Regions from separate parts of the Homo sapiens genome. Here regions 1 and 3 are each linked to region 2. The links are contacts of gene promoters, found by promoter capture Hi-C in blood cells and fetal thymus (Javierre and others, 2016). All regions are on one chromosome and are shown on one strand. The core of a region is centred on a gene start or on the middle of the fragment in contact, and the rest is flanking DNA. Distances in the headings are between cores, read along the strand shown. Region 1 overlaps XK (X-linked Kx blood group antigen, Kell and VPS13A binding protein). Region 2 holds the start of DYNLT3 (dynein light chain Tctex-type 3). Region 3 has its middle 2.5 kb from the start of CYBB.

Region 1 (3,112 bases), core at 522-3,021, 120 kb after region 2:
TTGTATTGTGCATGGCAACTGATGGACAACTGAACAGAATCTTAGTATCCAGCAGTGTAATTTTAACAAGTGGAGTAAATGTCTATAAAACAATCAGAGAGGTTTTCATGGACTGTTGTTGTTCTGCAAGGCTGAATCTTAGCACTCTCAAATTTCTCAGCCTACAGAAGTAATTTCCAGGTGAGTTTATAAAACTATAATCAGTTACAATGAAACAATTTTAAAATTTCTGTTTTAAAAATAGTCCCTGAAGTAAAAAGGCCATGTAAGAATTGTATAAAGAATGAAATACAAGGAGAAATTGAAAAATTAATTTATTATATGAAGAAACAGGACAATATTTATTAGCATCAACGACTGCAGAGAAGCAGTCAACGAAAGCTCATATCCACAATGCATTGACTGGTAAGTACTGGCACATACACTCATAACCATAGCACTAATGTTTTAAGGTGGTTTCCAAAGAAATGCTGTATTTGACAATCAATTTTAATATATATTTTCCCATTTACAAGGCTGAAAAGATTAAACTCACATCCAAATAATGCCTTGAATCAGCATTCAAGTTGTAAAGCACAATTATCAAAAGATGTTGCTATATCCTTTATCGAAAACTATACTAAAATGATAAATTCATTTGCCACCAGAAAGTACTTTCTCAGATTCAGTGGGTCTTTTTCTTCCAAGTGCCATGTGTTTGGGTGCTATTTTTGTAAGCAACTAGTGGTAAGAGAAAGGGCACCTGTCGAGAAGACCAAAGATTCGCATATCCACTCAGGAACTCATATGAATGACACTACTTATTTCTTTTCAAACAGTAAAAAAATAAAAATAACCTGCTTATGGATTTGAATAACTATAATAACTCTATAAATATGCATAGCACTTAAAAACATTTTCAAAGCATTTTCACATCTATTATTTAATTTGATCTTTCTGATAACCTTGTGAGGTAGGTTGGAAAAGGGTATTATGGGGAAACTGAGGCATAGAGCAATTAAGTTGTAGTGCTGGACAGGGAAGTGCCAATCTCTACACTGGGCTGTCTCCAGCAATGAGAGGAAGTCTAAACATGTTTGATGAACTTACTTCAATATATTTTGAAGACATACTTCACCCCCATCCAGCCAAATGATAGCAATTCAGTTGGAGCAACTATCCTGACAAGTTATGGGATGTAATTAATTAGACAAAGCACCAAGAAATTTAAAAATTGAAATTATAACTGAAAAACACATTTTAACTCCAAACACATGAGAAAAGTTGCTGGTTTGTTTTATGCCAATAGGACAACCTAGCTCTGCAGTGTGAACTGTAATTTTGCCAATTCAGTAATATAAATAATTTAAAAACAAAAATTATCAGTTCACCATGGCTTATGTTTTCACCACACAGAAAGAAAGTACTGACACCCCTTCCTGAAAGTGAATGGACATACATGTGCCCAAAGCTGGGATACCTGTATATTAAGGGTTAAAACTGACAAAATACCCAAATGAGTTACCAAATCTCTGTCCTTATAAATGTGTGAAGTGGGCTTTGGGTGTCGGACAAACCAGCACTGTTAGTTTGGTTTGGGATCACTCAAGTTGCTCACCTATCTTCTAAATTAAAGTGATTTAGAATGTATTTGAAGGTTAAGATTTTGTAATGGTTTTTGAGACAAGCTTCCAAACCAAGGCTGGAAAAAACCAGTCTCTCCATCCTTGTCTAATTCCTAACATGCCTAGTCAGTGGGAGGCTGGTGGCTACTCCCACACCTCACTCCCAAGGCCTGAGCTGAAGGCATTTCAGGTGAAAAGGGAGCGCTATTGCCCCTACCATTTGCCACTGCAGAGCCTCAAGGCAAGAATCTCTTTCTCACAAAAAGCTTGAAAATATTTGGTGTCAATGAACACAAGTAACTGGTGTGATACAAATATACACTTGGAATGACTAAAGAATGGCCTTACAGCTCTCCTAATCATTATAGAGCCCTTTTGTTAATTAGGAAGAAACAAAAAATGATGTATTAACATGGTAGCTTTATTTTATTCAAAGTCATATATTTTCAAGGGTGTTTTATGTAATACGATTGTGTATCTATGCACATATGTGATTACATGAAGAGTGCATGGAAGTATATGTTGTATGAAGTATTATTTTGATTATATATGCTCACTATTTTAGGCCTATTAAGAATAGTGCAAGTGGTAAGTGATGTGTTGGGATGGAGAACATAGTCTTGAGTGTTATTCTTATTTGGTTAAAAATAGACAAAAAATGATCTACTGCCTGGACACCCCCACAAAGTTAAACCACAAATATTGATAAATCAAAAACATTTCAAATGAGAAAAACCAAAATTGAGGCTCTATAATTTAGGAGCTTATTGATGTATTTCTATGAACTCTATAAATATTAAACAGTATGGATGCCTTGTGAAAGAATATATACTGCTTTCTTGACCTCCGAATGTAGTGGAAACTGATTATCAAATTGCATTTTCTCCTGTGTGCATGAAATTACTTAAAAATTTGACACCAAGAGGAATTAAAAATGAAAATTATCCGAAGTGCAATGGCCAGATAAATACGTTTTGTAGGTTAACAGAGAAGTGGATCCCTATTCCATATGGTAAAATCGAGTCCATAGAGTCCCTTTTGTAAATTTCTCAGACTTTAATATTCATTCTAAATTGGTGTGATCTTTATGGTCACCTCTTTTCAAGTATTTCGCTTTCAAGATTTTAATGGTAGAAATAATGGCACTAGATCTACGCATTTTTCCAAGATAATTGAGGATATGCTACCCAATCCTCTTTAATGAAACAAATAGGGTCTCCGATTAAAGGAAAAATTATATAGAACATTAAAGGGTGTCAGAGGATACAACTGGAGATCTTTATCAAATTAACTCACAATTATGCCAAGTCAAATTGCATTCCATGAAAGACAAAAATTTTCTGGTCATTCCGTCTTTATAATTTAGAAAAAGTTTCTGAAGTCAATCTCTAATTACAAGTGGTAGTGAGGAAAACTCTATTCCTTGAAATAATGAAAATGAAAATTCCCTATACACCTGAACTGGGTGAGAGATTTCTGTGGGGTTTTCTAAAAAACCCTTAAGTTAA
Region 2 (3,225 bases), core at 535-3,034:
AGGCTGAGGCAGGCAGATCACTTGAGGTCGATGAAGTCGGGAGTTCGAAACCAACCTGACCAACATGGAGAAACCCCGTCTCTACTAAAAATACAAAATTAGCTGGGCGTGGTGGTGCATGCCTGTAATCTCAGCTACTCAGAAGGCTGAGGCAGGAGAATCGCTTGAACCCGAGAGGCGGAGGTTGCCGTGGGTGAGCCGAGATCGCGCCATTGCACTCCGGCCTGGGCAGCAAGAGTGAAACTCCGTCTCAAAAAAAAAAAAAAAAGGAAAACCCTAACCTTCCATACCTTCCATGCCTAAGTAACAAAAGGACCAGAGGCTATTCCCTTTGCAAATCCCCACCTTTTCTGCAGGGCAGATGGGAAATTTAAAGTACCTCTGATTGGTTGCTTTTTGCAACCAAAGAGCAAAAAGCAACCAATCAGACATTTGCACAGGAGTGGAACTTTGTAACTTCACTTCAGCCTCTGATTGGTTGCTGTCTGCAACCAATCAAACTGATTATGGGCCAAATCTTTGTTTGAATAGAAGTGCAACTTTGTAACTTCACTTTAGCCTCTGATGGTTGCTTTCTTGCAACCAATCAGACGTTTGCATAGGAGTGTGGCCTTTGTAACTTCAGCCTCTGATTGTGGGCCACTACTTCATTTACATGGGGTGCACACCAAGTGGCCAATGGGAAATCTCTAGGGGGTATTTGGACCAGAGAAGATTCTGGATCCCGGCCCTTGAGCGGCTTCTCTGCCCGCTCCCACCCTGTAGAGTGTACTTTCGTTTTCAATAAATCTCTGCTTTTGTTGCTTCATTCTTTCCTTGCTTTGTTTGTGCGTTTTGTCCAATTCTTTGTTCAAAGAGCCAAGAACCTGGACACCCTACACTGGTAACAGAACTGTAAGAGAACAGGACTGTGTTTCTTTAAGGCACTACATTTACGGTAATTTGTTACAGTAGCAATAGGAAAGTAATACAGTGGTTAAGAGCTTGGGCTCTGCTATCAGACTACTTGAGCTCAAGTCCCTTTTCTACACCCTACTGGCTGTATGACCTTGGGCAAATTAAATTCTCTATACCTCAGTTTCATCTTGATAAAAGCAGTGATGGAAGAACTAACTCCTCTGACTTATTGTGAGGTTTTGAGGAAGTGTCTAGGATCATCTGGAAATTAGTAATTTATTTTAAAATTACTAATTTAAAATTACTACATTTATTTTAAAATTACTAATTTAAAATTACTACATTTATTTTAAAATGTAGTCATTGTTCTCTTGTTGAGAAGCATCTACTTTAGGAGCCGTGTATACAGCTTCTCATCAGATCCTTACAACCAGTAGTGAAATAGGTATGATGGTAAGTTTCCATATGAGAAAACTGAAGCTGTGGGAGGTGAATTTTTCCAAGTAACATAGCTAGTAAGTGGACAAATCAAAGTGGCTGGTTTACCACGAAATTAACTACATTTATGTGCCACATGATGGTGAATGAACAAATACGTGCAAGTAATCACAGCAGTGGGCACTCAACCACTAGTGCGGAGTCTAGACTAACTGCCACTAGGTCACCCCATCTGATCCACACTGGCGCCATTCCCAGTTCTTTACATTCATCCCTTGTTTCCAGAAAGGGCAGAGGAAGCGAGGAAAAAGTGCGTGGCCTGAAGTGACGCCTGGCGTTGCCCGAAGCCCGCCCAGCGCTGCCAGGTGACGCCACTGCGACACAAAGGCGGGGATTGCGTAGGGAAAGGCCCTAGGCCATAAACGGGGGTGGGGCCTCCCCGGAGGCCAGTGCGCGGCCGCGGTGCTCTACCGGCGTGTCGCTCCGCCCCAGGGAGAGCCGGCGCTACCATGGAGGAGTACCATCGCCACTGCGACGAGGTACCGCCCCTTGGCTACCTGGGAGCGCCCCCCACTCCCGCCTTCCTCTGCGCGGGGCTCTTGCCGGGTGGTCTCCCAGCGAGGGCGGTCCCAAGAGTTGGGGTGCGGCGTCCTCCGAGCCCGGGTCCTCTCCCCTGGGCCCGGGATCCGCCCCGCCCGACCCGTTCTCCCCACCCCAAAGTCCTGAGATTCGGGGTGGGAGGGGTGGCCAGGAGCGCGCGGATCAGACGGTGGGGTCGGGGCAGGGTTGGGAGGACGAGGCCTGACTTGGGTGCGAGGAGTGGGCATGGGGTGACGGGCGCCGCCCTCCTACCGGGCGGGCCTCGAAAACGGGTCTTCCCGCTGCTGCCTCCGTCCCTTGGCTTCCTCAGCGCGGGTGCTGCAGCCCCCATGGCTCGGAGTCTCGGGGTCCTGGTGGCACTGCCATTCCCGCTCCCGGTAATGCTTGCCAGGATTAGGCAAGGAGGTGCTTTATGGATTACGAGCCCTTGCTTACTGACTCAGGCTTTCCCAACCCTCACCAGAAACCCATGATGTCAGTTGTTATCTCCCTGTTATTGATGGGGACTCCAAAGAAAAGACTAAGTTGTCAGACCACTTTATAGTACTAAAGTGATATTAATCTTGAGTTATCAAGTATTTTCATAATCTTTAATTTGGGAAAGGAATTTTTGCCTAGAAATTTTTGCCTAGCATAAGTTAAAAACAAAATTGAAAATAGTCTACTAAGCATTCTCTTCATATGGACCACTTCATTCTCTCACTTAGCTGAAACCATTTCTATATTCTTATGACACATAACATCCTCATAGTCACCTCTTGCTTATTTCCTACGTTTTACAATACAATGATTCTTAATCTAGGATGTTCATTAGAATCACCAGTATAAAGCACTTTTTTAAAAAAAAATGTAGACTTGCAGGCTCTGCCCCAGACCTCACGGGAGGTAGGTAGGGAAAGCATTCAGTATTTTTAAGTGTTTAGGGGCAAGATTGGCCCCTTCTGTAGACCTGATGCCCTTTAACACTTTAACACCTGTCTAGGCCAGCCTAGGATATTCTGTGTAGCGTCATACTTGTAAGCCTGTGTTGAAAGCAGCTTTACCTTTTGTTTTCCCTTTAGGTTGGCTTCAATGCTGAGGAAGCCCACAATATTGTCAAAGAGGTGAGTCATACATTTTGTTTCTCTTGAAGCTTGCTGCACTGGTGGAGATTTTTAAAAGCTATATTTTGAGTTTCAGCACAAACTTAGAAACCTTACTGTTAAAAGAAGAATATTTTGTTTTGTTTTATTTTATTTTATTGTTTTTTGAGATGGAGTCTCGCTCTGTCACCCATGCTGGAGAACAGTG
Region 3 (3,338 bases), core at 150-2,649, 70 kb after region 2:
GTGGGCACCTGTAGTCCCAGCTACTCAGGAGGCTGAGGCAGGAGAATCACTTGAACCTGGGAGTCAGGTTGCAGTGAGCCGAGATTGTGTCATTGCACCCCAGCCTGGGCGACAGAGCAAGACTCCATCTCTCTCTCTCTCTCTCTCTCTCTCTCTCTCTATATATATATATATATATATACATATATATATAATATATAATATAATATATAATATATATACTTGTGTGTGTGTGCTGAAAAATTCCTACCATCTAGTGACATTGTAGCATAACACATTACTCATGTGTTTGTGGCAATGCTGGTGTAAACAAACCTACTGAGCTGCCAGTTGTAAAAGTATAGCACATACAATTATGTACATTACATAGTACTTGATAGTAAAAATAGATGACTATGTTACTGGTTCATTTATTTACTAGACTATACTTTTAATCATTATTTTAGAGTATACTCCTACTTATAAAAAAGTTAACTGTAAAAGAATCTCAGGCAGGTCCTTCAGAAGGTATTCCAGAAGAATGCATTGCTGTCATAGATGACAGCTTCATGCATGTTAGTGCCCTTGAAGACTGTCCAGTGGGGCAAAATGTGGAGGTGGAAGACAGTGATATTAATGATCCTGACTTTGTGTGGGCCTAGGCTAATGTGTATGTTTGTGTCTTAGCTTTTAACAAAAATGTTTTAAAGGTAAAATATAAAAATAAAAAATTTAAAAACAGAATAAAGCTTCTAGATATGGATATTAAAACATTTTTGTACAGCTGTAAAATTTTTTTTGTTTTAAGCTTAGGGTTATTACAAAAGAGTCAAGAAATTAAAAAAGCAAAAGTTTATAAATAAAAAGTTACAGTAAGCTAAATTTATTTCATTATTGAAAAAACAAAATGTTTTGCATATTTAGTATAGCCTAAGTGTACAGTGTTCATAAAATCTATAGGAGTGTACAAAAATGTTCTAGGCCTTCCTATCCATTCACCACTCACTCACTGACACATAGAGTAACTTCTAGTTCTCCAAGCTCTACTCATGGTAAGTGCCTTATACAGGTGTACCATTTTTAATCTTTTATACTTTATTTTTATTGTCTATTTTCTATGGTTAACTATGGTTAGATACCATTGTGTTAGAATCTCTGACAGTATTCAGTACAATAAAAAACGATAAGGTTTGTAGCCTAGCAGCCATAGGCTATACCATGTAGCCTAGGCGTGTAGTAGACTATACCATCAGGTTTATGTAAATACACTCTATGATTTTCACACAACAACAAAATCACCTAAGGATACATTTCTCAGAACAAATCCCCCATAGTTAAGTGATATGACTGCATATATGTGTGTATTACACATATAGACACACATGCAAACACACACACATCAATTCATTTGATCCTCACAACTCAACCACTGTAAAGCAGATTCTATTATTATGATTATATTTACAGATAAGGAAACTGAGTTCCAGAGCAGTTCAGTTACTTGGCCAAGTTCACATAACTAGCAAATAGTAGAGTTGGGATTTAAAACCCAAGAAATTTGGTTATACTTTTGACCAAGATACTAGAAAAAAGCCTTACTATGCCTACACTAAAAACCCTACATTAAATCACTCCACATACAACTATAGGAAAACATGACAAAATACAAGAAATATACCAAAATGTTTAGATGGCAATCATGTTTCCAGGCAAACATGACATCCTATATGCTAAGTGAGTAAACAGGGTCAGCACAAAGATATGTCAGATATGGTAGATGCCAAAAGCTAAATGTAGCATCATTTCCCTTGTTGGTACCCACTCTTCAAGACATGAAAGAGACAGGAAGGTAGGATAGTAACCCCATTATGAGATCAATATTGACTAATTGCACAAGGGTAGTTGTACAGCAGTTATAGCTAATATGGAGGTAAAAAAAAAAGAAATGGGAGGAGTGAAAGGGAACAAAAGAAGGAAAAAAAAGACATAAGTACTCTTTTGATTGTTGTCCATGAACTACTTGGGAAGCTTCTGTAATTACGATAATTAGCAAAGTAGTAGTGTTTTTCACTTCTTAATATTCAAGGAAAGGTACTTTTTAGAATGCTATGGCTCTTAGACCATGTGTAAACCACATAAAGAGAAGTTAGTCTCGTGGTTCTGTTCCACACAGAGATGAATTCAAAGAAACACACTTAGACAATTAAAACATGTGCCAATTATTTGCCTCTTGCTCTCAGGTCTATTCCCCACTTTCCTTGCTCTACTGTGTTTCAGAGAAAATTGTATTGCCAGGCTCCTTGGCCCTCTGGCTTCTAGTATGTTTAGCTGAATTGGAGAATGGATAGCAGGAGATAAGCCATAGTGTTTCTTCCCTGAGCTTTCTGCTTTAAGTGGCATCCATGAAGGGGCTGCATCTGCACTGAGGCTCCAACTTTCACCAGTCAGCCTCTCCCCCTGTGGCATGAGCTAGTCCTAGCCATCACCACTGTAGCTCAAGATTCTGCCAGGTGGCCCTGGCTTCTGAACTCAAGTTACACCACCACCTCCTAGTTTCCCTCTAACCCCTAGGGTGGTAACCACTTCCTGTAGTTGTTCATCTTTATATTATGTTGCCTCTGCACCCCATGTTGGGATTCTCTACTTTTCCATAATCCATGTAACAAATTTCCTGGTATGAAATTCCCCCTGTTGAAATACAGTGGTTTCTGTTTTTTGACTGAAACAAAAAAGTTACTCATATCTGTACTTATTTTTTTCATGTATTCAAAGAAGTGAGGCCTTTATACCCAAAGAAAAATAAAACATATTTAAAAATCCACTTTCTCTCCTCATCTCTGCCACTCTCAAACTCCTCTACAAAGATGACTGCTTCACCATAAGCTCTTGGAACTCATCAGTCTTTTCCTCTGTACTTATCCCCACTGTTCTCTTTCTCTGCCTATTGGATCATCTTCCTTTATCCCACTTAAATTTTCAAGCCTTTCTCATACTTTTCCACCTGCCTCCTGAAGCCTGTGCTCTGCTGGGGAGGCAATGACAAAGGGATCATTAATCTGCATATACCAGGAAATAACATTCCCAGTTTCACATAAACTTATTTCTTGAACATTTTCCCACTCCCTTTCCTTCCCTCCATAATTTGAGAAGAAAATTCAAAAAAGAAAGAATCTTTTCCCTGAGTAATCAACCATTCCATTCTACTGATTTCCCCTCCCCCCCGCCTTTATAAAAGTAATCACAGGGCTATGAGTAGCAATTTCTTGAGAACCTTAAGCACCTCAATCAGTTTTACAGTGGGAGAGAGAGAGATCAGTTGCAATGAAGAGTAAAGTCTTTCTTTTACAGAAAGTTACTAA

Evidence for each region. The method cuts DNA at HindIII sites, captures the fragments that hold promoters and counts their contacts. A CHiCAGO score of 5 or more calls a contact.
Region 1: a contact is called between a fragment that was not itself captured here and the fragment with the promoter of DYNLT3 in region 2, in 1 of 17 cell types (total B cells). The highest score is 5.2, in total B cells.
Region 3: a fragment that was not itself captured here is called in contact with the fragment with the promoter of DYNLT3 in region 2 in 1 of 17 cell types (activated CD4 T cells); the score reaches 5.0 in activated CD4 T cells.

Annotation. Positions count from the first base shown.
Region 1 is chrX:37,729,308-37,732,419 of GRCh38, reverse strand. XK (X-linked Kx blood group antigen, Kell and VPS13A binding protein) reads right to left here. Exons shown (of 3, transcript NM_021083.4): 3 at 290-3,112. Among named protein-coding and RNA genes, the nearest start is that of XK, 45 kb to the right of the region's middle. The HindIII fragment of the contact is 203 bases long and covers 1,670-1,872 here.
Region 2 is chrX:37,846,130-37,849,354 of GRCh38, reverse strand. DYNLT3 (dynein light chain Tctex-type 3) reads left to right here and starts at 1,784. Exons shown (of 5, transcript NM_006520.3): 1 at 1,784-1,874; 2 at 2,997-3,038. The coding sequence starts at 1,845. RefSeq lists a silencer at 2,011-2,120. The HindIII fragment of the contact is 5,769 bases long and covers 1-3,069 here.
Region 3 is chrX:37,775,913-37,779,250 of GRCh38, reverse strand. No RefSeq gene overlaps it. Among named protein-coding and RNA genes, the nearest start is that of CYBB, 2.5 kb to the left of the region's middle. The HindIII fragment of the contact is 1,220 bases long and covers 790-2,009 here.